Linked DNA regions of Homo sapiens: region 1 is linked to region 2. The links are contacts of gene promoters, found by promoter capture Hi-C in human tissues and cell types (Jung and others, 2019). All regions are on one chromosome and are shown on one strand. The core of a region is centred on a gene start or on the middle of the fragment in contact, and the rest is flanking DNA. Distances in the headings are between cores, read along the strand shown. Region 1 holds the start of LOC124903348 (a long non-coding RNA gene). Region 2 holds the start of JDP2 (Jun dimerization protein 2).

Region 1 (3,768 bases), core at 179-2,678, 570 kb after region 2:
ACAAAGAGTCTTCATAGCCCAGGGTAAGGAAGGCCTAATTTGGCAAGGAAGGGTTTAACAGAGGTGGGAGCTTCTGAGCTGAGACCTGAAAGATGAGGGATAGTTCTGCCAGGCAAATGGAGAGTGGGTACCACCCAACCATTCAAGCTTCTTGAGCAAGAGCAAAATATGAGCTGGTATTCAGCCTGCTTAGATGTTTGCTGGTTATAAAGGCAACACTGTGAAGGCAATGATAAGAGTGACAGCCAGAATGGGGACCACCTAGTTTACTCTTCTCGTTTTACAGCTGAGGAAACTGAGGCAGAGAGGGGAAGTAAATCTCTGCTTGGGGTTTTGAAATGGTTTATCTGGGATAGAATTGCCATCTCTTCCCATCCCACTTGGACACCACACACACACACACACACACACACACACACACACACACACACAATACACCAACCTGTATTTGACATCTAAGACACCACACACACACACACACACACACACACACACAAAATACACCAACCTGTATTTGACATCATCTATGCTACATAACTTTTCCACATCGAGATGATTTTTACATTCTGTGACTTAACTGTGCACATATGTCATCCAGCTTATTTGACCAGAGTTTCCAGAGACAGAAAAATGGAGCAAATACACAATTCCAATCAGAAAAACAAAATGAAATCAAATAGAAACCACAGGAACAAGGAATTCACTAGTTAATTGATAAACTGGCATTTTAAAGTGTTCATTTTCCTTGACACTGAGATAAATCCAGGAGGGTCTAAACCCTGGTCACTTGAAGAAGGCCAAACTAATGTTTTTCTTCACACGATATCCCAGCTCCAACCTCCTGAAGGTTTATTTTCCTGATGTTCAGGTAAAGTCACTCAACTAAATGGCAGCTTCTGCAGAACTCCCAAGAGGCAGTGTGTTTTGCCTGGTGTGAGGCAAGTCCTAGGTCATCATATGTGCACTTCAAGCTCCCCTTAGTGTTGCTGATGGAAGCAATGTCCAGTTCTGGGCTGAGACTCTACCCAAATAACCGTGAATAACTTTAGGCTAGAAAGGCTGGCTGTCTAAATTCTTAAGCTACTGAGCTGTAGATAATCCCCAAAACAGAAACACATGGGCAGGAAAAGTAGAGGGAAACAGAAACACTAGTTAGTGGCCTTTTTGGCTAGTTTTCTGCCTTGGCTGGGGACACTATGAAAAATAAAATATAGGCCAGGCACAGTGGCTCATGCCTCTAATCCCAGCACTTTGGGAGGCCGAGGTGGGCAGATGACCTGAGGTCAGGAGTTCGAGACCAGCCTGACCAACATGGTAAAACCCCATGTCTACTAAAAATACAAAAACTAGCTGGCGTGGTGGCGTGCGCCTGTAATCCCAGCTACTCGGAGGCTGAGGCAGGAGAATCACTTGAACCCAGGAGGTGGATGTTGCAGTGAACAGAGATCACGCCACTGCACTCCAGCCTGGGCGACAAAGCGAGACTACATCTCAAAAAAAAAAAAACACACAAAAACAAACAAACAAACAACAAAAAATATATATAGAGAGGGAGAGAGAGACAGAGTGTCAGACACTGTCAAATTTATGTTCAAATTGCTATAGTTCAAAACTGAGTGAAAGTACATACAGATGAAGTGTGACAATAAGGAAAATCAAACTAATTGTTGGGACCAGACCTCCCCTGTTCCCATAAAAGGTTTCTGAGGGCCTCTTTTACTTTGGGTGTTGGGTTAGGGGCTGTTAATACTTTTGGTCTACATCATTCAAGCTTTTCTTTCCCTCATATTCAGTTGGTTGGTTGATCCCTGAAGCAACCTCTGATTTTGATTTCAATTCATTCCACAATTCAAAGTTGCTAATAAACTGCTCCCTGACCTACATCTTGCCCTTCCCTTGGCCCTTTATCCAAGTGGAAGGCCCCAGGCCTGCCATGCAGTCCACCTGGGTGCAGCAAAATCTGGCACCACACTGGTCGTGACCCCTAAGTCCCACTCAAACACCACAAAAAGCTTTTCATGGGTAAAACAACCCCCATAAATCTAGCATATCAAAAAAAAGTTATGTTCTAATGGGCACTGTAGCTAATTTAGATTTTTCTGAGTATAACTAAATAGGCTTGGAAAATAGCGGTGGCTTCGCTTCTTTTTTTAAAGGAAGCCCCTGTTAATGCTGGTTAAAGCCGTATATGAACCCCTATACTGAGCTGGAAGCAGACAGTTCTAATTCTGAGCACCTCGTGGCAAATGTCTGACTGGATGGACCTCTTGTTTGTACAGTTCAACCGCTGCATTACCTCCCAGATGATCAAGTGGTTCAGCAACTTTCGTGAGTTTTATTACATCCAAATGGAAAAATCTGCCCGGCAAGCAATTTCAGATGGTGTCACAAATCCCAAAATGCTGGTGGTTCTCCGCAATTCAGAACTTTTTCAAGCTCTCAATATGCACTACAACAAGGGAAATGACTTTGAGGTAAGACCATGTACTGGGTTCCCATGAGATCTGATGAGTGTCTTCCCTATATGATTCGAGTTTTAGGAAAGATCCCTCTTCTGTGTCTCCTTAAGTTACTGAGAGCCAGGGCAGCCTGGGCCAATCTCTGTATCATCCACAAAGATTACAGCCTCAACATCTTCACTTGGGCAACAGGTGGAAGCAGCAAACTGAGTCAACAGCCAGTCTTCATTCTGAAGCTTAGTGAGAGGGCTGCCAGGTGTTACACCATCTTAGACTGAATACCCTGTCATTATCAAGTTACATAACTTCCTGACCTTTTTGCCTTAGTGCCAGGAGGCTCAGGACTGAATGCTGAGCTCAGTTGTGGCACCTAGTCTTGGCCTAGGTTTTCTCAACAATTTCTATGCTTTTCATGATTTGATTCTTATCTGTATTTTCCCTTGAAAATGTATCAGTGGGCCTTCCATAGCAAGTCACCTCAAATCCTTTCTGGAAATAACAATAAACAACACTCAAGCTCAGTCCCTCGGGGATCCCTATGAAGGCACACTGGTGGCACCTCAGAGGTAAAGCGTCAGTGAAAGGTGAGCCTAGGTGTCACTGGCGCACATTCCTAATCAAGAGATGCATGTTGCCTCATGCACAGCTGACAGCTGTTAGGCTGGCATCTGATTCTGCAGGTGCCGGGTATATCTGGTCACAGATTACACTTCCCTCTTCTTGACTTCTCCCTTGACTGTGATCACAAAGAGTGGTTTATTGATACCTCCAAAAAATACAAGAACTGTGGTCATCCACTGGTTGACTGGTGAGTCAGAGTATGTTTGGAAAGCTAAGACTACCTGTGGGGAAAATTGTCCATGTCTCCCTTTCTGAGGCTCAAGGGGTCACGGCCAGTATGGGACAGGCAGCACTGCTGCATCTTTCCACATAGGGTGGTCATTTGACCTGCAGTGGCAGCAAGCCCCAAGCCAAGCTGGGTCTGGAGCTTGGCAGTGGGGCAACCCATCATTCATGGTGCCAGTCTGGGTTAGGATTCTAGAACAGCACCCCCGTCAACCAGCTCTGAAAGCAGGAGTGTAAGCTCTTCAGACCCAGCCCTAAAAGGCAGTGGAATGAGGTATGACAGTCAGAAGCTTGGGGGCACTCCTTTCCACAGTTAGTACTAGGGAAAAGAATACCGAAGTCTCTTTGAGCCACAGATTTACTTTCAGTAAGATTTTCTGACCTGCTTAGTTAAAAAGTCGCCCATTAGCGAGATCAGCTCCTCCTACAAAGGAAGTGTCCTTAATTCACCTTCTCCCAGGGC
Region 2 (3,636 bases), core at 963-3,462:
TGCAACACCAGTAGCCCCACGACAAACAAGGCCCAGAGAGCCTATTCCTGCCAGGGATTCTGCAGGTTGGAAAAAAATGCCCACACATCCTACAAACAGGTAGGGAGATGACAACAAACCCAGGGAGTCAGGAGGAGCATTCCCTGGTAGCTGCAAAAGTTAGGCAGTGGATGAGTGGGGAGACCCTTATCCAAACCCTTCCTAGGGGGCATTGTCACCACTTTGCAACACATCTCCTTGGAGGTGGCTGCAGCCAACCTAGGAGAAAAGCCAGAGGTCTACACACCCATGACTTCCTGCAGCCCACCTAGGAGAAAAGCCAGAGGTCTACACACCCATGACTTCCTGCAGCCCTTCAAATCACACAGCACCCAGCTCTTCAGGAAGATTCTGGAGCTGCCTGCAGCTCTGAACCAAAGCCAAAGTAGAAGGGAACAGAAGAGTCTTTGAGAAATCCATCCTCCCTGCTCTAAACAAGGCAAAACCTTAACCACCCAGAGGTGTGAGAATAGATTTTGCTTCTCTTCCTCGATCCTCAGGTTTATACAAAATCAGAGCCATGCTCACACCTGATACCTGGTTAAACTCTCCCCTAGAAACCTGCAAAGGAAGATAAGCTATCCATCCAAGCTGCAGCCAGATTTGCTGGAAAGGTAAAAGCAATGGGAAGTGTTTTTTAAAACCCTCAGGGAAGGAAGGTTGGGGGGAAGGGAGATGATACGCGAATGCAGTTTCTACCAAGGGCTTAAAGGACGTTTGGGTACAAATGTACCCAAACATGGTTCAAAGCTTCCCAATTCCTGATGCTCCTCCAATTAAGACCCTAGGGAGAGACCACCAAGATTTAAGCCTGGGTACACACGCCTAAGCAGGCTGCAAGCCCTTTCTGAGATATAGACCTGAGCACATTTGCCCTGAGCACACGTGGTCGGGCCATAGCCCCATGCCCTGGATTCCAACAGGGAGGGCAGCACCCTGGGCAAGGGCCACGCCATCTTGCAACTGGAGATGACCCAAGGGGGTCGGCTGATTTCTCCTTCCACCAGCCTCTCCATCCCTGCAAAAGAGCCAGGACCTCCCCATCTTCCCCAGCCTCCTCATCTTCCCTGCTCCTCCTACTGACCCAGGCAAAGCCTGGCTCTGCCATCCCAGGGTCCAGGGATCCAGGTGGAAGGCCCAATCCACCCCTACACTCTCCCACCCCCCACTGCACCCCTACCCCTCGACAACCTCCTTTGAAGGGAGGAGCAGAGGAGAGCCTTCTAAGCTGGGCTGGGCAAGGGAGAGGCTGGTTACCTACAGGAGCCTGCTTGCCTCCTTATATAACCTGGCGTGGGAGACAGGAGAGCCCAAAGGGGACCCCGGCCACCCCTAGATCCCCTCCCAGCCCAGAGCTCCGAAGCAATGGCCATGAGAGAAGCTGCCTTCATTGGATGGAAATCCCGAGCCCTTCTCAATACTCTCCTCCGGGTCCGGGTCCTCCGGGAGTCGCGCTTCCTCACTGCCAGGAGGTCCTTGTCATCCCTCCACAATCTAACCCCGACCCCAACCCCGCACCTCCCTGGCCCTTCACCCTCCACCTCCACCCGCACAGCCCATCTCCGCGGGCACTTTTCTCCCCACTCACCCCGCCTTCCCCGCCGCCCGAGGAGAGCACCTCCCTGCAAACGGACGGGGGAGGAGAGCGCGGGAGGGAGAAGGAGGGAGCACCCCGGCTGTCCAGGGAGCGGACGGAGCCTCCCGTCCCGGGGCGGGAACCAAAAGGAAGCCTCAGGCTGCCGGGCGCCTCGCGGGAGGGGCCCGGCTGCAGCGCCCGGCGCGGGGAAAGCTCGAGGTCCCTGGGCTGCGGGAGCCTCCCCGCGGGGCTGGGCTGGGGCTCCTCGCGCTCCGCCCGTGCGGGGGCGGCCGTCCCAGGTGCCCGCGCCGCGCCCTGCCCCGCCCCGCCCGTCCCGGCGCCCCCAGCGCGCGCCCTCGCACCCACCGTGCAGAAGGTGCGGGGGGAGGCGGCGCCCCCGGGGCCGGGGCCCGGCTGCAGGCGCCGTGCCCGCTCCGCGCCGCTGCCGCCCGGCCGCGGAGCTCCGCCCGGTGCCCAGGCCTGTCCCGGCCCGGGAGCCGCCGCGGCGCCAGCCCCGCCGCCGCTGCAGCGTCCGCCGCCGCCAGCGCCCCCCGTCGCGGCCGCCGAGCGTCCCTCCCGCAGGCTGTGGCGGGCGGCGGGACGGGTTGCATCAGCCCCGGCTATATAGCGGCCCCTGGGCGGCGGGGAGGGGTCGGGAATGCGGAACCGGCCGAGCTGCCAGCTCCAGACGTCAGAGGGGGACGGAGAGGAAGGGAAGGAGGGGACCGGGGAGGAGGGGGTGTGGAGCCGGCGCTTCACACCCACTGACCTTAACCTCCCCCGCCGCCTTGGGCGCCCTCCTCCCGCGGCCGCTCGCGCTCCTCTCCCCGCGGGGGCGTCCCGGGTTCCATGCAGTCCCCCGGCTCCGCCACCCCACGGTGCAGGAGCGCTCGAGAAAGCAGGACGCGGCGAGCGGTTATGTAAGCGCACCCCCCGCGCACCGCCGCCCGGCTTGTGCCCGCCAGGCAGCAGCAGCCGCAGCCCTAGGAGAGAGACGCGAGAGGCCGGAGCCGGGGGAAAAGTCAAAAGCCCCTTCACGCACAGCCTGTGTTAACCATGTACCTCAGTCCCGGCGCTTCCCCCACAAACTGAGAGCGACAGGGAGAATTTCCGCACAGTTTCATCCTTGGACACTTCAGGACTGAGCGGGTGAGGAGGCGATCTCGCCAGCCTGCTTTATTTTTCGGTGGAGAAGGATGGGCTGAGATGAAGGCATTTGGGGACTCCTACCCCTACCCACCGGCCCCCGCCAGCGCCCTTAGGCCCCGAGACGGCTGGCTGCACCAGCCTGACCTCTGCTAGGGCTGCAGCCTGAGACCGCGGCTTGCTCTACTGCTGGCGCAGTTTGACCCTTGGGCTTGTACCCTGCTCCAGCGGGCTTCTCCTTTCCACTCCGGACACAGCAGTGAGCAGACCCAGCCCTCAGCAGACCCCAAGTGGCCTTCTTCCCCGTTCCAGCTTCAATAGCCAACCCCACTCCCACCTTCCATCCTTCTAGAGAGGAAATGGTGAAGGGGACTCCAGAGGGAAGGCGACATCCATGGTGCCCTCCAGTATACAAAGGCAGAGACACAGAGCCCTCAGGTAGAACGGGGTTCCCTAGATGGCATCTCCTACCTCCAGAGCTCCTGGGTACCCATCGAGCCCCCTACCTTCTGCCTAAGCCAGATAGGAGTGACGATTTTTATACTCAGCGACTTTCGGCCTCCTTCTGAGAGTGATGTCAGGTCATCACCCATAGAAGAAAGGAAGTGAAAGAAAAAGTTCATGCCTTCTTGGAGTGCAGATGCTCAGAGTGAAAGAAACAACAAGACTTGAGACAGATGGGTGCCATTGAGCAAACCCGAACATGCATGTCTCTCTCATGTGAGTGAGTGCATGAGACTTTATTCTCCTTATTTCCCCAGTGCAGTGAAATCTTTCTGGATAAAAGAAGTGGGCTAATGGAAGGAGAGACAGACCAAGTCCCAATGACATTGCCTGACCATTTTCACCTTCGCCATCAGCAGTCTCCCTCACAG

The links. The method cuts DNA at HindIII sites, captures the fragments that hold promoters and counts their contacts. A contact is called where the count stands out against the background at its distance.
Region 1: a fragment that was not itself captured here is called in contact with the fragment with the promoter of JDP2 in region 2 in 1 of the 25 tissues and cell types used here (dorsolateral prefrontal cortex).

The regions. Positions count from the first base shown.
Region 1 is chr14:74,855,507-74,859,274 of GRCh38, reverse strand. It overlaps PROX2 (prospero homeobox 2), which reads left to right. Exons shown (of 6, transcript NM_001243007.2): 4 at 761-868; 5 at 2,280-2,474. It overlaps LOC124903348 (a long non-coding RNA gene), which reads right to left and starts at 769. Exons shown (of 2, transcript XR_007064269.1): 1 at 509-769; 2 at 1-442. RefSeq lists an enhancer at 3,395-3,768. The HindIII fragment of the contact is 3,434 bases long and covers 1-3,145 here.
Region 2 is chr14:75,426,598-75,430,233 of GRCh38, reverse strand. JDP2 (Jun dimerization protein 2) reads right to left here and starts at 2,212. Exons shown (of 4, transcript NM_001135048.2): 1 at 1,982-2,212. JDP2-AS1 (JDP2 antisense RNA 1) reads left to right here and starts at 2,579. Exons shown (of 2, transcript NR_184172.1): 1 at 2,579-2,764; 2 at 3,523-3,636. RefSeq lists silencers at 1,564-1,733, 1,794-1,973, 2,224-2,493 and enhancers at 2,159-2,716, 2,684-2,743, 2,764-3,093, 3,344-3,443. The HindIII fragment of the contact is 10,168 bases long and covers 4-3,636 here.